Regions from separate parts of the Homo sapiens genome. Here regions 1, 2, 4, 5, 6 and 7 are each linked to region 3. Evidence: promoter capture Hi-C in 16 types of primary human blood cells and fetal thymus (Javierre and others, 2016). All regions are on one chromosome and are shown on one strand. Each heading gives the region's core, a stretch centred on a gene start or on the middle of the fragment in contact. The rest is flanking DNA. Distances are from core to core; before and after follow the strand shown. Region 1 overlaps HOTTIP (HOXA distal transcript antisense RNA). Region 2 has its middle 77 kb from the start of LINC03007. Region 3 holds the start of SP8 (Sp8 transcription factor). Region 4 holds the start of HOXA11 (homeobox A11). Region 5 holds the start of HOXA5 (homeobox A5). Region 6 holds the start of HOXA10-AS (HOXA10 antisense RNA). Region 7 has its middle 3.8 kb from the start of EVX1-AS.

Region 1 (2,700 bases), core at 40-2,539, 6.4 Mb after region 3:
CAGCACTTTTCAAGGAACAGCCGCGGTTCCTTTGTCCCGCGGCTCCAGCCCCGTTCGGCCCAGCTCTCAGGGAAACGAAGCGCTCAGTAAGAACTTTTGATATTAGTTTGTATGGGTATTTACACTCTGGTGAGGGGAGCTGAGTACGGAAGTTCCATTAATCATACTCCAACCTTGGGTTTAGATATTCAGTTTATGGGTTGGGAGAGGGAGTTTGCCGGAAAGAAAGCATCAAGGTTGGCCGCTGACTCCAGAGAAATGAAAAGGGAGCAAGGTCGTTTTCTGTTTCTGGAAATCAAGAATTAGGAATGGGCAACTACAGGTGCTAACCAACAGACCACTTTTTTGTTTTTTGGTAGCCCTTTGGCAGGGATAGTTTTTCCACCTTTGCCCGATACAATTTAAAAAAAAAAATCCTTTTATTATGGAATTTGTCAAACACACACACAAGCATAACAAACCCCTAGGTACCCATCTCCAAGTTTTGACCCCTATTATAATTTCATCTTCAGTGTTTTATTATCCACTTCCTCTCTCTCTATCTTTAGTATTTTAAAGTAAATCCCAGATAGCATCACATCATTTCACCCCCACCATAGGATTTCAAAGATCTGTTATATTTCAAGATTGAGTAAAAGGGCTTGAAATTGGGTTATTGCAATGAAACTCTAGAAAAAGCTTGAGGGTTCACCCAGGAGTAAGCTGGACAAAAAAGGGGTTTGAGGGGTGGACCCATCTTGCCTAAAAATCTTGTCTCATCTTTCTAAAAATTACATATGAAAGAGGAAGATTTATGTTACTTTTTTATATGAGAGAATCGTCCTTTAATAGAAAATTTCTATTGCTGCATCAGAATTATGGAGGAACACAAAAAACATACCTCAGTCCTTAGTGTGTCCTAAATTAACACATATTCACTTATTAGTGGGTAAATGACTATATTTCATTTCAGCACAACTTCTCCCCTGGTAGAAACACAAAAGAAATTTCTAATGATTAAACTAGGAAAGTTTGCACTGAATTGATGGCTTATCAGAGCAACCGCAGTTTTCAGGAAGAAATTCAATGCCATGCGTTGAAAATATCCCCCTAGCAATAAGGGATTATTTTTAAAAAAGAATGAATAAAGATGTTCTGGTTTCTTTTGTTTTAATCTGGTAGTCTCATTTACAACGAGCATGATTCTCCCTGTCGAACTCTGAAAGTGACTTAACTGAAAGGCTTGGCAACTTCAGAAAGCAAAAAGGTAAAAACAGAAAATAGCACACGGTTGAATTTGACAACTTTTACACTACCCGGCTGCTTAATAAATTCTAACCCCACTTGTCTGAGTGGATACTGATCATCTTTTCTATGGCAGTATTTTGTATTTGGGTTGTTTATGGTTTCTTAATTAATTTTTTTGAGTAGTGATTAAATATCTGGGATGCTTTTACACTAAGCATATAAATTCTCATGGTATTAGAAAAGAGCTATTTGATGAAACTCATAAGGGGTATGTAAATTAAAAAAGAGAAGAAAGTGTGTGTACATATTTTACAATAATCTCGAACGACTCCAACTATATGTTGCAGAAGCCATGAGCTCTCTGCCCACTGTCTGTGGGGTATCAGCAAGATTGACTCCTACCAAGCCTTGGGCACAGTGGTGGGTTTAAGGGTCCCATGTCTCCAGATCCTAAGATGGAGTTCACCGCAGGGGTGAGGGCTCGGGTCAGGGTAAGGGTGGGGACTGCAGAAGTCAAACAATTCGGAGGAAGAGGGAGAGGGGAAGAGAGAAGCCACAGACAAGCCAGGAGACAAAGAGGAAGGGAGAGATGGGAGGGAGAAGAATAAGAAGCAATGAAACTGTAATTCTCCACAAAAATTTAAGCTACAGCAGCTCAAAGAAGGCCTGTTTTTAAAGCTTAGCAGAAGCCCATTCTCCGCTGAAGCCTGTTCTTTGTGGAAGCCTGGCTGGGGGGCAGTGGGGGCGGTGCCACTGTCGAGTGTTCCTTGCCATTTAGGTCCAAAGCCTCCCTGTGATTTCTGTAACTGCACAAAAACAATCTGGGCTTTAAGAACCTGATTATTGTCCAGAGTTAAATGCAGGCTCGACCTTCTGCCCATAGAGAGTCCAAACGCATGAATTCCTGCTGGTATCAGCTTCGGAGGCAGAGGTCGCGAGCTGAGCTTGGGACAACCCTTCAAGCCTGCTAGCAATTACCTGCTCTCAGCCACTTTTAAAAGGCCATATTTCTTTACATTTCTAGGATCTAATGTGAGGTTATGTCAGGTCATGGGACCCTAGGCTGGTGCAAAGTAATTTGATGTCACCAAGAGCAAGCAGACTCGTTTGTCACCCTGAGGAATAGAAGTCCCTGTGATTTCTGCTGGGAGCAGAGCAGGGTTGCTTGGCTGGGGGTGTGGAATCCAGACAGGGGTCCAGTGTGGGCCTAACCAGGTGAGCTGGGAGGGGACTTTCTGGATCGTGTGTGTGTGTGTGTGTGTGTGTGTGTGTGTGTGTGTGTGTGTATGTTTGTCTGTCTCAGGTTGAGAGGATTAAGGGATCAGCTCTGCTCCAAGCTCACACAGCAGCCCATTGGAACTCAGCATGTGACCTGGACTGATCCAGGCCCTTGGATCCCAGGTTCACTTGTGACATGATCTGGGTCTCAGTTTTTCTGAAGCTAAATCTGGTTAGCCCACCTGCAGTCCTTTC
Region 2 (2,700 bases), core at 115-2,614, 5.1 Mb after region 3:
AGCCCTGTTTATCATTAAATTGTAAACTCATAACAATACACTGTTTATAATATATCACATATCCTGTAAGTTTCTAAGCCAAATTATTTCATTGTGGTGGCAGATGGTTGTGGAAATCAATCTGTTTTTACATGTTGGTTCTCTCAGCTTACAGTAATAACTAACTCTAACATATTTAAGTGAGGGTTCAAATAATAGAAATGAACCACGTTCCAAATATATAAATTACATTGCCAACTGTGAGAAAGTCGAAATCTGTGTTCCATGTTATTTTATTTAAATTTACGAATTATGTGAAATGGGTAATTCCATCCATTTTTCCAGTATGGTTTTGTAAGAAAAAGACATGGAAATTGATATCTCCATAGAACAGCAACAGTTTAGGCCACTATTTTTATGGATGCAGGGATCCAAGAATTAAATAAGAATACACAGTGACATTTAAAAACATCTCTGAATAAGAACTGATTGACCAATTACATGCTCACAGCTGGAAGGTGTTTGTTTCCATATACTTTTCAAAAGATTGCATTTGCCTTTGTGGACAAACACTATCTCCAAGAAAGGAAATTAAGAACATGAAAGAGGTATTTTGTTTGTTTCAGGTTCCTTTCATTATGGGTATTTTTAAAAAATTTAATACCATGGGCCGGGCGCGGTGACTCACGCCTGTAATCCCAACACTTTGTGAGGCCGAGGAGGGCAGATCATAAGATCAAGAGATCGAGACCATTCTGGCCAACATGGTGCAACCCTGTCTCTACTAAAAATACAAAAATTAGCTGGGCATGGTGGTGCGCGCCTGTAGTAGCAGAAGTTAAACTATTCGGGAGGCTGAGGCAGGAGAATCGCTTGAACCCGAAGACGGAGTTTGCAGGGAGCAGAAATCGCACCACTGCACTCCAGCCTAGTGACAGCGAGACTCTGTCTCAAAAACAAAAAAAAAGAAAAACCATGAATTCACTATTTGAGATATATATATAGAGAGAGAGAGAGAAAGATAATTATATGTCTATCATTTTTTTTCATGAAAACAAGCTATGTTTTGTACCCAGAGTGCCATAATCAAGTAATGAAAACAGACTTGAAAAAATAAGTGGCAGCTTTATTAACAGTTACTGTATTTAGGGATGTTATATTCTGTGGCTGTTTCTAAAAGATGGCAAAGCAGTTATGAAAACTTTAACTTTCATTCGCTATAAAAATGTCATATACAAAAATAAAAACAAAATAGTGCCAGAATACCAGCTTCCCATACAAATACAAAAATGTATCTAAAGGGAGAAAGAAACAGTCTGTCTCCAAAATGTAAAATGAACAAGGTTTTTTTTTTTTTCTTTTAAGTTTGGATTACGTTGAAAATTGCCTCAATTTTTTCTCTTCACATCAGACAGATAAAGTTCAAGTGACTTTTCAAAGTCATATTCAACCCCCCAAAAAACTAAACAATCTTATGTATTTAAGTTAGATTGTAAAATGAATTTTGTATAGAAAAAATTATAAAATATTTACTACATAAGTTCACAGGCTCCAGAGTCCTTGATGCCTCAGCATCTGAGTGTTATTTGTATTTACTATGATGGTGAGCAACAGTATGCCAGGCAAAATTACATTTCTTTGTAAAATTGCCAATTTGAAATAGTACTGTGACTTCCAGAGGTGGTTTGGGACATATTTTTGAAGAAAAAAAAAATCACTCCTAGAAAAAATATATTTAATAATTATAGTTTTTTCTCTCCCTTTTTAGTTTGCCTTCCACAACATATACAAAATGTCAGTATCATTGATAAGAATATTCCAAGGGATATTAGAGGTAAATGAACAGGAGATTGATGACAAAATTCAAATATAAAGTTGTCAGAGAATTCACTGCATCTGGTATCAGCTTGTCCTGATTTTTAAAAGAGTCATCAATATTAAAAATTGTCATCTATGGGCTAGTGCATTTTCCAAACTATATACATATTTTGAAATATTAAAATAATATATGTGCATTGTAGTAAAATTTAAAAGCACAAAGAAAGCAGGGAAGAAAAATTCACTCCCTACGAAAGAAAACCACTACTCAGATCTTGATATATATTTGATATATATTCGATGATATATATTCTTGACATCTTTTTTCTGTGTATGTATTTGCATTTCAAAAAGTTAAATATTGCACATTCTGTTTTGTAAACTGTTGGGGTGTTTTATTAGTCTTGGTAGATGATGGAAATCTTCCCGTGGTCCAGGATTCTTCTATAAGGTGATTTAGATTGGCCAACAGGGCTACTTTCAATGATCACAACTGGATTCATTCAACACATTCCATATTAGGAGATGTTTAAATTGTGTCTAATTTTTCAGCATTGGAAACAGTGCTGCAATGCATATATTCTTACACCTCTGTCAGTGGCTGTAACTATCTTTGTAGGGCACATTTCTATGAGAGATGTTGTTTTTTGTTCATTTCTTTTTTCATTTTTTTCTTTTCTTTCTGCTTTTTTTTTCTTTTTTTCCCTTTTCTTTGGTGTGTTTATATTGCTTTATTTTGTTTTGTCTTCAGATTGGTTGCTTGTTTTTTAACCAAATAAAAGTGATCCAAAAGTGCAATCTTGCTTTTAGAAGCCAAAATATTAAAACATTTAAAAGGCTGAAGTTCCCACATTCCCACTTCCTCCTCCTCAGTTTGCTGCATAGCTTTTGAATCCTCTCTCT
Region 3 (2,700 bases), core at 6-2,505:
GCAGCTGGCGGAAGAAGAGGACGAGGAGCGTTTCCAGGGGTGGAAGCCTTTGCCGAAGGAAGAAGAGCTGTCCGAGAGGGAGGAGGGAGACGGGCTGGGGCTGCCTATCTTATTACAGGTAGCGGCAAGCATGGCCAGAGGAGTCGATCCCAACCTCGGTTCTTCCTGCGAGGAGGAGAGGAGAAGGAGTGGGGGAGGGGAGGTGGGCAAAGGGCCGGTGGGGGAGGAAAGGAAGAAATGTGCATCAGTCCTTCGGTAGCCTCCAAAGCGCCCCACTGCACCCCATCTCTCGCTGCGGCGCGCCGCCACCAACTCACCTGGCACCCCCAACAGCCCCGGCGCCCGGCCGCTTCCTACTCTACAGGAGGGGACAAGTTTGGCTGCCGGCGTCTGATTCGGGAGCAAGCACCACGCTAAAGAAGAGTTTGACAAGTATTCTCACCTAAAACAACACTCTCTTGCACACAAAGCCCCAGACACTTCGTAACAAACAAGCAAAAAGTCCAGATTGGAGAGGAAGGAAGTTTTCTTTGCCGAGAAGCCTGGGGGAAAACCATTGGATTGCTTTTAAGAGCGCTTCCCTGTAATCCGGAGAGCTTTGAAAAACCTGTTCGGGTCCCCAGAAACCCATCCTGGGTTGTTTCTCCCAGGCCAAAAGAAATCAAACTGTAGGGCTCACTCTTTCTTCCTGCTTTTCTTTCTTTCTTTTTTTAAAAGCATATCTACAGTAGTAAAAACGAGACGAGTTCAACGTACCTGCGAGACAAGGCGGGCTGCAGAATTTTTTTTTAAGGGTTAGGGGAAGAATCTGCACTTTGCCCAGAAGGAAAAACTTGCTCTCTTTACCCCCGAAATCGGTGCCTGTAAAATGGGCTGGACGCAGGTCTCCCGGGCAGGGAGCAGCGAGGCGCTGCGCGGTGGCTTGTCTAAATGCCCTTCGAACCTTTTCCTGCGCTGAAAAAAAGTGACTCTGCCCCCTTCTCCCCCTTTTTCTTTTCTCCAAACTCACTTGTATTTAAAGAAAAAAAAAAAAAGCTCTCAATAGAGAGACTGATAGCCCGTGGCCTGGCCGGGGCGACTTTAACCCCCTCCAATCGGCAATAAAAGGAAACTAATTAAACCAGCAAGAGAAAATCCTGAGACTCACCCCTAGAAGTGAAGTTGCCATCACACAAAAGTGCCCTCCTCCTCTCAGAGGATCTTTTTTATATTGATAAATCAGAGGCAGTGTTTTTTTTAGAGGTGTGCAATACAATGATCAGTTCCGCCCATTCCACCACAATTGTAGCTCCCTCTCCGGCTTTGAAGTGCCGCGGAGGCGCGGCCAGCCAATCTGCGGCCTCGCCGGGCCGCGCGGCGCGCGCGCCGTGAGGTCATCGGCGCCGCCGCCTGCCGCCGTGGTGGAAGGGGGAGTGGGAGCGGAGGGGGCGGGGGCGGCTGCGTGTGTTACAAAGCGCAAAGCGCGCGCTCGCGTGTATGAGTGTGTGTGTAACAATGTAACTGTGTGCGAGTGTGACCAGGCGTAGGAGAGGACAGTGCGGAGACTGGAGGGAGGGGGGATGGGGGTGTGACACCGTAACAGTGACAGTGTGGTAAAGGCGGGGAGTGGAGAGAGTGCAGAAAAGGGAGGGTTGTGTGATAAGATAACTGCGTGTGCGACAAAGCGGGGTAGAGGGACAGAGCAGTTAAGTGTTGGGAAGGGTGTGAGTGTACGGTAGTGTAACTGACAAACCTAGGGAGGGAAGAGGGACTCAACTGGGTGGGGGGTGAGTGTGTTTGGTGTTGGGGGAGAAGGAGGGCTGTGAACATGTGTATTTGTGCGACAGAGAAGAGGGAAGGGTGTGTGTGGGCGCTTGTGTTGTGTGCGCGCACCAAAGCTGGTAGTGGGGAATGGGAACAATGCAATAAAGTGTGTGTTTGTAAGAGAGAGACTGTCGAGCTGAAGAGAGAAACCGACTAAGTTGATGGAGGCTGAGTGAATAAATATTCACAAACGCTGCCCCTGTCGCCAACTTCCTTTGGCTCCTTGTACCTAAAATCTTGAGTGATTTTTTTTTCTTAACTTGGTAAACAGCGTCACTACATTTTTGAAGAAGATCTTTAAACCCACCTTTTCTTTCCCGGCTCTCCAACGAAATAGTAGAAAGGTTGAGAGGCTAAGGGTTATTTTTAGGGATGCGTTGGGACGTGGATGCGCGCCTGCGCGCCCATGAGTTGTTTCTTTGATGCCGTGGCTTTTTTTTTTTTTTTTTTTTTTTTTTTCCCTGAGGTGGAATTCTGCTTTAGAAGTGCACGTCTCACTCTAGGGGAGGAGGTGTGTGTGTCCCGTGGTGTTGAGTAAATTTCAATACAAAAGGATTAGATAGAGAAGAGAGTAAGCGAGGGTCGTTTTTTCTTTGGGTAAGAAATTGAAGAGCGTTTTACGGAATTTAGAAATTTTCACAGAAAACCTCACTGCCTCTTTCTGAGAAAAGAATCAGGACTTTGATCGAAATATATGGGTTCTATTTATCTAAGAATAGAGAGGAGCTTTTGACAAATCTTGGACATTTATCCAGGCGTCAGTGTCTAATGGCGATTGGGCCAGAGATCTGTCTATGAGTGTGTGTGCATGTTAATAGATACACTTAGTTCAAATTCGGTGGGGTTTAGTCATTTGCTTGCCATTTGTGTTATTAGTTGCCTTCAGAAATGCCATTA
Region 4 (2,700 bases), core at 191-2,690, 6.4 Mb after region 3:
AAAATCGCTTTTGACAGATTGAATAACAATTGTGAATAACATGCAGTTGGGCAGAAGGAGGCACGTAATTGCCACCACGCCAGAGGAAAATGGCTTCCTTTGGACAAAAAGGCCAACTTTGGGTTAATTTGTTCTTTTAATATATTGCTAGAGCTAAGCGGGCTACTTTATCTGTTAAACGCGCTCCTAGCGCCGTCGTTAAACAGCGACGCCTTTGAATCCCGGCCGGGACTGGAGTCCCGGCGCAACACATGGCTTTTATAAAAATCTCCGGATTACCTCGCTATCAAAAGCTCCCGAAGCCCTTGCAGGGGGAATTTACAGGCGCCCACCTCCGGCTCCCCAGCCTGGAGCTGGCCCCGAGCGGGGTCGAGCTGCTGGGCTTGGGAGCTGAGAAGGGAAAAAAGGGAAAAGGGGAGTTGTTTTTTTTTGCAGGCATGCCTTGGCCGGTGGGTATTTCACGGCCAATTTCAGCACTCGCCACGTGATCCCGCCTTTTATAACAAAGTTTTGTTGGGGGAAACCTAAAGGCCCTTCATAAACCTTATATGCTTATAAAACAGCATATAAAAATTTAACAGCGGTGCTGCGCTAGATTTCCAACTCCCCTTTCATAAAGCGCAGGGCGCTGCCTTTATACGTACTGGAGCCGCCGGCCTTGTCCTCAGTGTGGCCGGAAGACGACTCGGGGCTGCTGCTGCTCTCGGGGCGCCGCCGCCGCTCTTTCTCCTCTGCTGCCGCCGCCGTCTCCCGGCAGCCGCCGCCGCCGCCGCTGTCCGAACTTGAAGTTGCCGGCGCGCCCGTTGCAGCCGCCGCCGCCGCCGCGGAGGTCGCCGTGGCCGCCGGGGGCCCCTTCTCGGCGCTCTTGTCCCCGGGGTAGTCGGAGGAGGCGAGGTTTTCCGGGGTGCCGTAGGCTGTCTCGAAAAACTGGTCGAAAGCCTGTGGCAGGACGCCGTTCCTGCCCACGGTGCTATAGAAATTGGACGAGACTGCGGGGGTGGGGTGGTGGTAGACGTTGGCCGAGCTCTTGGCCAGCACGTCGCCAGGCACGCCGGCCGCGCTGGGCGCCTGCAGGCAGTCTCTGTGCACGAGCTCCTCCGCGGAGTAGCAGTGGGCCAGATTGCCGCGGGGGTGCCATTTAGTGGCGGGCTCAATGGCGTACTCTCTGAAGGTCACTTCGCGCACGGGTTGGACCTGGGGCAGGTTGGAGGAGTAGGAGTATGTCATTGGGCGCGAAGACGGGGTCTGGGGCAGAAAAGAAGGGAGGCTGGAGAAATCTGGACCCGAGACGTAGTAAGTACAACTTGGCAAATACATGTTAGAGGAGCAGGGACCACGCTCATCAAAATCCATTATTGGGCTACCTTGGGCTCTCCGCAGTAGCCGAGCTTAACATGATTCTCCACTGCAGCTGCCTCTTTGAAGCGGATCCGTGAAGTAGAAATTTGGAGACGTAAGCTGACGTGGAAATCTATCCCCATCCTTAGCAGGGAGGTGCTGGTCATGTGACCCGATGTTGAAATTGACAAGCTGCTAGCTAGTCCGGGCCTTTTCCCCCCCCCTTTCCTTTTTTTTTTTTCCTCCTCTCCCCTCCCTCCCGGCTTCCTTTCTTTGTAGCCACCTCAGGGGAAGCAACAGATCGTCACTCGGTGTTCTCACCGAAAGCACGTAATCGCCGGTGTAACTCATGTTGGCTGGGGGGCCTCCCGGCGCGCGCGGAGAGGCTGGGGTGCGCCCCCATGCAGCATGCTTGTGCTCAATTGCAGGGTCCTCGTTCTCGAGTGTGCAGAGGGCGGTGAGAGCTCAACTCTCGTCCCCACCTCCCACCCGCAGCTCCCCGGGTGGGTGAGGGATGCCCTGGACTGGGGATAGCCAGGTGGGAGTCCGTCGCTGTGTGGCCTGTGGTCTCGGAGTCTGTTCTCCTGGAGTCTCGCATTTGCACCCCCTTCTTCGCAGTCCCCCTCCCATAGACTTGCTCTGGGAAGCGCCTCTGCCTCCGACCCTAGCCGGAACCCCTTCGGGGCCAGAGTTTGAAGCCGTGGATGTGCCTGCCTGGTGGCTTGTCCGATTTGCACGGTGACTTGATTACACTCTCTCATTCATGGTCACTTCCGAAGCGCTTTAGTGCCTTCCGTCCCTAAACCGCCAACAGCCAGAACGGCTTCTCCCCGCGGTTTGTCACTGATCCGCAGGGCCCGGAAGGGCCTTCGTCTTACCCGGGATCCACCTCTCCCCTCATCTTCCCTGCCTACCTCTTCATCCCACCTTCTGTCCTTGGAGAAACTCCCTCCTCCTCGCTGCCTGCCGGGCTTCGGAGTGACTCGGCAGAGACAGAGGCACAGGGGCTGCCCTGCTGCTCACCGGTCCACCCATCTGCCTGGTCTTCTGGAGCTGAGGACTCGGGAAACCATGCAATTGAGGCAAGCCTTGGGCTGCTTTAGAGGCGCTGACATCCGAGGAGACTTCTCCTGGGTATGCTGCATCTTCGTGGGGGGCCCATCAGGCTGCTTACAGAGCTCCAGGGGTGTGGGGAGAATGGAGGTGGAAAGGACGGGCTGAGGGCCAAGGAGAGGTGGCTGAGAAAGGGGTAACCCACCTACTCTCCTACTCTCCTTCCTTGCAATGTGTGAGAGTGAAAGCAAGGGATGTGCAGGGCAAAAACTCAGAGAGCTCTGTGCCTTTCCTACTGCTCATTCCACA
Region 5 (2,700 bases), core at 192-2,691, 6.4 Mb after region 3:
CCTTTCTAGAAAGAAAACAATACGATTTGGACCCTGGGAACAATCTGCCCATCTGAGGCTGGGGCCGTGTCCCGGCGGACTCCGGCTTTCCCTGGCCCCTCTCCTGCCCCCTCCGCCCTGCCCCGGGCGCCCCGATCGGGAGGCACAGCCCTCCCAGGCTGCCCACCGCACAGAAACCCAGGAAGCAAGGCCCTTTCCTGAGCGCCCAAGTGGCCTTCGGGTCACCCTCCCTCAAAGTTCCAGCCCCGAGAGCCGCCTCCCGTTTCCAGCCTGCAGGGTTGGGGAGCCTGTTTTCTTTTTCTTCCCTTTCCTTCTCTCTCCCTCCTGCCCCCAAAATTCAGAATCCTGCAGGCTCTCGCCTCGATTCTTTCCCCCAAGCCCCTTTTCGGGGGCTGTAATTAGTAACGCTGTTTCCCCAGCGTAGCCCTCCTCATAAATTATCCGCCGTGACAAGCCCGATTCACGGCTGCTACAGCCATCCTCTACCTCTCTGCGCCTTGCTCGGCTGGCCTGACCCGGGAGCGCGTCCCAAGGCGTGGGGTTCCAGAGGGGTTTTTTGCTTCCTCCCCCTTCCAACGTCTAAACTGTCCCAGAGAACGCCCATTTCCCCCACTATTTGTGAGCGCAGGGTGCTCGCAAAGAAGAGGAGGAAGGAGGAAGGCAGGGGAGGGAGAACGGCAAGGAGAGCTCCGCAGGGCTGGGAGAAATGAGACCAAGAGAGACTGGGAGAGGGCGGCAGAGAAGAGAGGGGGGACCGAGAGCCGCGTCCCCGCGGTCGCGTGGATTTAGAAAAAGGCTGGCTTTACCATGACTTATGTGCAGCTTGCGCATCCAGGGGTAGATCTGGGGTTGGGCGGGCGGCGCCGGGCTCGGCTCGCTCTGCGCACTCGCCTGCTCGCTGCTGGCAGGGGCGTCCTCCTCGGCTCCGGACGCCGTGCCAACCCCCTCTCTGCTGCTGATGTGGGTGCTGCCGGCGTCGGCCGAGGCGCCGCTGGAGTTGCTTAGGGAGTTTTTCCCGCCGTGGTGGCTGTCGCTGCCGGGCGAGGGGGCCACGGCGGAGCAGGGCAGCGGATCGGGCTGAGGAGAGTGCGTGGACGTGGCCGGCTGGCTGTACCTGGGCTCGGCGGGCGCCGCGCTGGCGCTGGCAGCGTAGCTGCGGGCGCGCTCTCCGGAGCCAAAGTGGCCGGAGCCCGAGCGGCCGACGCTGAGATCCATGCCATTGTAGCCGTAGCCGTACCTGCCGGAGTGCATGCTCGCCGAGTCCCTGAATTGCTCGCTCACGGAACTATGATCTCCATAATTATGCAACTGGTAGTCCGGGCCATTTGGATAGCGACCGCAAAATGAGTTTACAAAATAAGAGCTCATTTGTTTTTTGATATGTGTGCTTGATTTGTGGCTCGCGGTCGTTTGTGCGTCTATAGCACCCTTGCACAATTTATGATGAATTATGGAAATGACTGGGACATGTACTTGGTTCCCTCCTACGTAGGCACCCAAATATGGGGTACGACTTCGAATCACGTGCTTTTGTTGTCCAGTCGTAAATCCTGCCTGATGACCTCTAGAGGTAAACTCGTGCACTAATAGGGGAGTTGGGTGGAGGCGAGGGGGGTGGCGCGCGCGCCCCGGGCGCGTGCCCGCCGCCAGTTGCCGCCGTTCAGCCGGACTCGAGCGCCACCCGCTGGAGGCAGGGCTCATCGCCCAGCTTCCGACCGGGGGCTGCAAGGGCCGGGGTCGAATTGAGGTTACAGCCCATTATGGCAAAATTATTGCATTTCCCTCGCAGTTCCATTAGGATGTACCAATTGTTAGGCCGTCAGCTGCCGATCGCGCGCCCGGCGAGGATGCAGAGGATTGGGGGGAGGTGGTGACTTGCATTTTATTTACAACAACTTTATTTCCCCCGTTTTGCAGCCCCTCTTATTTTTGTGTCGAGGTTGGGGTCGGTACTGACCGTCCTGCCAGCAGCTCTGAATTTTGAAAATACAGATATCACCTTCGGGGAAGGGGGAAAGCCATTTAGCCAATTGGAGAAATAAATCCTGCCCGCAGCAGCAGCAGCTACAATTACGGCTCTGTTTTTGCGAGCGCATGAGGGACAGTGTCCCTGCCGCTCTTAAATGACAGGCGTCTATTAAAGATAGCTTTTGTGTAGTGTTTCTCCAAGGCGAGGTCAAATTCCATACACTTTTATAACCGTAGTCGATTTTTCTTTCGTGTGAATATGGTTTTCGTGTCATTAGTTTGCGATTTGATTTGCTTACGTATCCAGCCTGGAAAATCTTCATCACAGGGTCCGGTTCCTCGAGCCAGCCGGGCCCCAAGTCGGAGGGTTCTCCTTGAACCCAGCGAGTGGGCCCAGGCTCCCTGCAGCCACAGAGGCTGCCTGGGGTCTGGGGATCCGTGGGGCGGGTTACTGGGGTCTTGCTTAGACCTCCAGGAGTAAAATGAGGGCGATAATGGAAGCATTCCTTGGCAGTGCCTAGTATCTCTGTAGTTATTTTCCACGGCTCCGAAAGACTCAAGTAAATCACAAATATAGCTGAGAGGCAAGTGGAGTCTCCCCGCTGGAGGCCCGGCGTTGCAGGCGCCCCTGGCACGTCTGGAAGCCAGGACTCTGGCGGCTCCCATGGCCCTGGGCCCCTCGTTGGGTCCTGAACGCTGCTGTGGCGGCGACGCGGGCGCTATCGGAGGCTG
Region 6 (2,700 bases), core at 130-2,629, 6.4 Mb after region 3:
TGGAGGAAACCCTGGCTCCCAATTTTAAGTGTCTGCAAATGGGCTGGGCATGTCTGGATGCCTTTTCCACGTTTTATGCCTGAGAAGACACTGATTATTTCAGTATTTTTTAAGTAAAAAAGCTGTTCCTTTAAACAGCCTTAGCCCCAAAATAAGAGAGTTACTGAACAATTAGCAGGCGTTGAGTGTTAAGCAGATGTTACTGGTGCCTAGAAAGCGGAGAAAAATCAGAAAACCAAATATTGTCTTCCTTCAGCCCAAAGGTTTGGAGCCAGAATAGTCTGACTTTTTTGTCTGCTTTTATTTTCGAAGTGAAAGAGATTGCGTATGCATAAAGAAATAATAAATGAGTATAATTTAAAGCGGCCCCTTCTCGACTGAGATTTCTGAAACTGTGATCTCTGAAATAAATCCAATGCCCTGGTCCAGAAAATGGCAGGGAGGAGTTGAAGGGAATGGGGTGTGTGGTCCTTTCAGACAGCAGGTCGGTGGCTGTGCAACGAAAGAGTTCCTGGGCCTCCAGTCCAGGCAGGGAAAGGAAACAGCTTTGTGGGCACGAATCTGTAACTGTGTGTGTTGGGAGTAGGGAGAGATAGTTTGTTTTCTGTTTTCTGTAGGGAAAATGGTCAGACTGGCTCCCATCTGTAGACTACAATTTGGAACGATGACTCAAGTTTATATCAATGGCTCTGGAATTTGGGATTCTTTTTGCCCATTTAAAACATACTGGCTCTTGGAAGGGTCCCCTTCTCCAGCACCCAGCTGCACAAAGGTGCTGTATGGAACATATTTTGTACCTAATGGAAGCCACTAGTAAGCAAGCAGTCAAGCTTTGCCCTAGCCAGTCTCCCTCAATGCGGTCAAACCCCAAGCTGTGACCGGCAGGCCGGGAAGAGCCAGCTAAGAGCTTCCCAGCGAATGGCCAGGCTCCAGCGAGGCTGGTTGGGCCTCAGCTCCAGTCCCCAGTGAGGCTGGCGAAGGCCTCCCTGCCCTCGATATGGGCACACAAAGCTGCAGCGAATGTCCCCTAATCAGATCTCCTAGTCAGCCGTTAGCGACAGGCGAAGAAACGCAAGGCTGCCGCCATCCGGTCGTGATCATAACCGAGGCCTTGTCTGCAGAGTAACACACCAGGCCCAAACCCACCGCCCTCGGCAGCCGCCCCACGCGGGCCCTTCCTCGGCAGACTTCCCAACCTCTACTTGAGCCGCAGAGGAAAGTGAGACCCCCTAGGCTCTCCTGAAGCCAGCTCTGGGCCCCTCCCCAAGGATGCTTTGGGAAGGAGATAAGGAGGTGAGATAGAATCTGGCAGAGACGGAAGATGAAAAAAAGACCAACGGAAGAAAAGAAAGCAGGAAGGAGCAAAGGAAAGAAGAAAAAAAGAAAGAAGAGATAAAAGAGGAAGGGAAGACAGGGAAAAGAAGGAAGAAAAGAGAGGCGACTCCTAGCAGCGGCCGAGCTTACAGAGAGAAGGGTAAGTGACAAGGCCAGGATCCCAGCCTGCCCTATCCTTCCTAGTCCAGCCTGAGTCTCCACTGGAAGGAGGTTCTTTCCTGAGCTCACACCCGGGACTGGTGTGTGTGTGTGTGTGTGTGTGTGTGTGTGTGTGTGTGTTCCAGCCTTACAAGAGAATGGCAGGAGGTCCCTGGGCAGGCGCAGGCCTCCAGTGGGAGGCTCAGGATGGAAGCGGGCGCCCCTGACCTTGAATGGCCCAAAGCCCAGAATTCCTACCACGCCCCCGGCGTCCGCGAAGGAGCAGCCAACCTAACCCTACCTGCTGTGACCAGGTGGAGGTGTGTGGTGGAAGGGGAAAGCCGGCCGGCTGGCAAAGCGCTGCGGAGAAAGACACGAGGCTCCTGAGCAGGGAAAGCCGAGGTTGCCACCGCAGGCCTGGCACGACCAGGGCCGTGATGCCCCGCCCGGCCCGACCCCCGCGCGCAGAGGTACCTGGAGACGATTTCAACTGAAGTAATGAAGGCAGTGTCGTGCTGTCGAGAGAAAGGTGGATCCCAACAACAGGAAACTACCTAAATCACCGACCAGTTCTGGTGCTGCCCGCGAAGGGCTGCCTCGCCCGCCGCCGCCGCCGCCTCCGCCGCTGCCGCCGCCGCCAAGGAGAGAACCCTGCCATCGCGCCTGGCCCGGCCCAGCCCAGCCCCTAGGCAACCTGCGCCCGCCAGTGCAACAGAGTGCCCCAGGCGGCCGCAAATGCGTCAAGGAAGGGGAAGCCACAGGCCCCAGTAAGGTATTCCTGGGAGGGAGAGGGAGGAAAAGAGAGGGAGGAAAGGCAGGGAGAGAGGAATAAAGGCGGGGAGCAGGCGAGACGAGAGCAGCTCCGAGAAGCAGTGTGCGCGCCGCTTTCCCAAATCTTGCAGCCCAGCGAGCCGGCGCCAAGAGGCGGTAGCCGTGGAAGGCTCGAAAGCGCCAGGGACGGTACAGATCCCGGCTCCCTGTCTGGCCCCGGCCTCCCGCCTCTCGCTCTCCCCCTCTCCCTCCTAGCTGCCCGCCCGCCGGGGCGCGCGCTCCTGCGCCCCCTCCCCTTAGCCCCCGCCCCCCCCACTCTGGCAAGCAGGAAACGCGTGGCCCTAAGGAGTGCCGCCAGGTGGGGGAGGCCGTACTGGGGGAGGGGGAGGCCCCCATGCAGTCCAGCCCGGGTCCACCTAACCGCTGCCTCCAGCGGCTAGAGATGCGCTGTGGGCC
Region 7 (2,700 bases), core at 135-2,634, 6.5 Mb after region 3:
AAAGAGGATGAGCTCCGCAGAGCCTTGAAGACAAAATGATTCTGGCTAGCAGCTCCCTAACTATGGCATTAAATTGCTCAGTTACATAGCAAATCGCTACTTGGTTTCTGCATCCTTGTCCGTATTTTTTTTTTTTCTGTCCTACAGTTTGATCCTGTCTCCCAATGTGGCATGCCCCACGAACGGTTTCTTTAGTGATTATGTTGACTCCACCTTCCTAGTTTCAAACCCTGCACCCGCACTCTCCAGACAGGAAGTCCCTCTCCCTCGACCAGGGATTGAGGGAGAAGAGATTCAGAATGCATCTCCTTGCCCTAGGCCTTTCGGGGGGGACATGGCCTTAGACAGTCACCCCGAAATTGGGCTCAGGTCCTCACAGTAAGTCGAGTGTCCCCCCACATCCCCAACCCCGGCCCTTTCACTAAAGTTTAAAAGATTCTTTTGTTCCTCAGGCTTCTCCCGCTTGGTTGCTTCCATTATTCCCCAACTGCGGAAACACCAGCCACCATATGTCCGCCGGAGAATAAGCGTGAGTGTCGCGGTGGACAGTTGCCGCCAAAGGTGTCCAGACGGATGGCATTCTCAAAGTAGGGATCTTAGCATCCTCTCCATACATCATCACCCAAGAATGGTAGAGGAAAGAGTAGGAGTGGGGTTACAGATAGGAGAGAAAGGAGGTTGAGGCCACAAAATTGGCATTTCTCTAATTATCAACCCCCTCCTCCACCATCCTGCCACCATTTGTTATGGCAAAGTTCTCTTTCTGTGCCCCTTCCCTAATAAAGAAATCCTCAGTCAGCCTCCACCTACTCCTTTTGATTTGCAGGAAGCCAAACTGCCAGCAGATTGAGCTTTCTAAGGGATACCTTTGGGATATGTTGGAATTCTGATTTGTTCAAGATGATGACGGTCATCAGTACAAATCAGAAACAATGCCACTCTTCAGGGTGTCATTTGTAAGTGCAATAACACGGATTCATTTGCAAAACCCAGCTAAACTGCGTCTGGATAAGTGACTAGATCCAAACGACAAATTTCTTCCATCACTCAGCTCCTCCCAAGCTCTGCGGGGGCAGCACAGAAGACTGCTTTAGGGTGAAACTAAGGCTCAGCTCACCATTTGTGCCAGCTTGAGGGACCCTGGAAATGTTGACTCTGAGAAAAAGACAAAACAAAACAAAACAAAACAAAACCCAATCACAAAACATATCCTACTGTCTACAAAGCAAACAGAAACACAAAGTTGTTTCCAAAATCACCTTTTCAGCAAATAAGTATGTGATATTCTGAGCAGGAGCAGGAGGGAGAGAAAGACTGCCACTTAAAAAAACATGAAAGCATTAAGTAATAATTTAAAACACGGCTGTTTAGAAAAATATTTATATTTATTGCAGCTGCTCAATTGGCCTCGTTAAAGTCGGCAAGCATTTAAATTGTGTTACAATCTCATTTAAATCCCGTTCCGTTCCAGCAGGCTGAAGAGCTTGAATAGACCAATCACTTCATAATGATGATGAATGAGAAATTAATTCAGATACAAGCAAGACAATTTAGGCCTTCATCTGTTTAAATAGCCTTCCAATATTATTCGCCATCGCGGGTCACAGATTGAATCAATTGTCCAATCTTGTGAAAGTCATATCCTTGCGTCTTCATCGAGATTATTTATAGCGCAGTGAGCGCTGCTGAAAGGTATACGCTGTTAACAGGGACAATTACTTAAAGGGAAGCGTTTGTAAAATGGAAAACAAATGCCGGGGTTGGTAACAAATGGGATCAAAAGCAGCCATTCCAATCTGGCTCCCCGAGGGAAAGGAGCGGGCGTGGCCCTGTAGGATTAGGGGCGCTTCTGACCTCCCCAAGACCCAGGTGAGGCCGAGGGTCCCCGGCGCGCCAGCCTGCGCCGTGGCTGTGGCTGCGGTGGCGACTCGGGCCGGGCCTCGCTCTCGCCGGCTTCAGGTTCCCGCCTCCCTCGCGCAGGCAGCGGGCGCGTGTGGCCCGGGCTGGGCAAGCCGAGGAACAGCGAGCCCCCGGACGCTGACTGCAGGACGTCCCAGTTTGTGCCCGGGTCTCCGTCCCTCCCCGTACGGGGCTCGTACCCCCGGGCCTGGGTCTGACCCACAGGGCGCTGAGGCCTTTGTAGCTGAAGTCGGAAGGCCTCGTTGCGAGCGCGGCACAGGTTGCTGGTAGCTTCTGGACTCTGGAGGCTTGGCCTTCCTTCTAAGCCGATGGCGGGGAAAGAACCTCGTTTCCACAGCTTCCCCGACCCCCGCCGCTTGCCATTTGGGGACGGGAAGCGCGCCCGGGTCGCTTCACGTCCCTCTGGGCCGGAGCCCTTTCCATGGCTGGCTCCTCTGGGGGCCCTTGGGCCTGTGAGCAGCGTCTACTTCCCTCAGAGAAGAATCCTTTCCTTCCCCCATCGAAGTGTCCCTTTCTGTATCCTGAAATAACCCCTCCTGGGTGAGGCCAGTTCCCCTCTGTCGCCCTCCTCCCGCAGGCGTCCGGGAGCCTCGTGAGGACCCCGTGCAGTTGAGTCCAGGCGACAGGTGCCTCCCCAGGTGTCTACTTGCCCTCCCTCAACCTGTTTAGGGAAAGACCAGAACGATGTGCGCGGGGAGGTGGTTTTGTTTCTCCCGAAACTGGCGCTCTTGGGTAAAACCGCGTGCCGCGTCTACGCGGGCTCTGTTAGTGTGCGTGTCC

Evidence for each region. Contacts are between HindIII fragments. The CHiCAGO score rates a contact against its expected background, and 5 or more counts as called.
Region 1: a fragment that was not itself captured here is called in contact with the fragment with the promoter of SP8 in region 3 in 2 of 17 cell types (total B cells and naive B cells); the score reaches 14.1 in total B cells.
Region 2: a fragment that was not itself captured here is called in contact with the fragment with the promoter of SP8 in region 3 in 2 of 17 cell types (naive B cells and total B cells); the score reaches 10.0 in naive B cells.
Region 4: a contact is called between the fragment with the promoter of HOXA11 here and the fragment with the promoter of SP8 in region 3, in 2 of 17 cell types (naive B cells and total B cells). The highest score is 28.5, in naive B cells.
Region 5: the fragment with the promoter of HOXA5 here is called in contact with the fragment with the promoter of SP8 in region 3 in 2 of 17 cell types (total B cells and naive B cells); the score reaches 22.4 in total B cells.
Region 6: the fragment with the promoter of HOXA10-AS here is called in contact with the fragment with the promoter of SP8 in region 3 in 2 of 17 cell types (naive B cells and total B cells); the score reaches 49.2 in naive B cells.
Region 7: a fragment that was not itself captured here is called in contact with the fragment with the promoter of SP8 in region 3 in 2 of 17 cell types (naive B cells and total B cells); the score reaches 14.0 in naive B cells.

The regions. Positions count from the first base shown.
Region 1 is chr7:27,206,107-27,208,806 of GRCh38, forward strand. HOTTIP (HOXA distal transcript antisense RNA) reads left to right here. Exons shown (of 3, transcript NR_037843.3): 3 at 1-1,153. Among named protein-coding and RNA genes, the nearest start is that of HOTTIP, 7.0 kb to the left of the region's middle. The HindIII fragment of the contact is 1,227 bases long and covers 677-1,903 here.
Region 2 is chr7:25,865,646-25,868,345 of GRCh38, forward strand. No RefSeq gene overlaps it. Among named protein-coding and RNA genes, the nearest start is that of LINC03007, 77 kb to the left of the region's middle. The HindIII fragment of the contact is 5,129 bases long and covers 1-2,700 here.
Region 3 is chr7:20,785,631-20,788,330 of GRCh38, forward strand. SP8 (Sp8 transcription factor) reads right to left here and starts at 1,256. Exons shown (of 2, transcript NM_182700.6): 1 at 1,148-1,256; 2 at 1-165. The coding sequence starts at 1,168. The HindIII fragment of the contact is 6,810 bases long and covers 1-2,700 here.
Region 4 is chr7:27,183,792-27,186,491 of GRCh38, forward strand. HOXA11 (homeobox A11) reads right to left here and starts at 1,441. Exons shown (of 2, transcript NM_005523.6): 1 at 645-1,441. The coding sequence starts at 1,353. It overlaps HOXA11-AS (HOXA11 antisense RNA), which reads left to right and starts at 1,617. Exons shown (of 2, transcript NR_002795.2): 1 at 1,617-2,472. RefSeq lists enhancers at 1-804, 1,687-2,568. The HindIII fragment of the contact is 8,872 bases long and covers 1-2,700 here.
Region 5 is chr7:27,142,240-27,144,939 of GRCh38, forward strand. HOXA5 (homeobox A5) reads right to left here and starts at 1,442. Exons shown (of 2, transcript NM_019102.4): 1 at 807-1,442. The coding sequence starts at 1,368. All of the region lies in intron 1 of HOXA3 (homeobox A3), which reads right to left. The region is part of intron 1 of HOXA-AS3 (HOXA cluster antisense RNA 3); the gene reads left to right. The HindIII fragment of the contact is 13,335 bases long and covers 1-2,700 here.
Region 6 is chr7:27,167,520-27,170,219 of GRCh38, forward strand. It overlaps HOXA10-AS (HOXA10 antisense RNA), which reads left to right and starts at 1,380. Exons shown (of 3, transcript NR_046609.1): 1 at 1,380-1,474; 2 at 1,788-2,245. All of the region lies in intron 1 of HOXA10-HOXA9 (HOXA10-HOXA9 readthrough), which reads right to left. MIR196B (microRNA 196b) reads right to left here and starts at 2,044; the gene lies at 1,961-2,044. RefSeq lists enhancers at 1,065-1,655, 1,656-2,246. The HindIII fragment of the contact is 2,254 bases long and covers 829-2,700 here.
Region 7 is chr7:27,249,696-27,252,395 of GRCh38, forward strand. No RefSeq gene overlaps it. Among named protein-coding and RNA genes, the nearest start is that of EVX1-AS, 3.8 kb to the left of the region's middle. RefSeq lists enhancers at 1-177, 1,635-2,338. The HindIII fragment of the contact is 6,789 bases long and covers 1-2,700 here.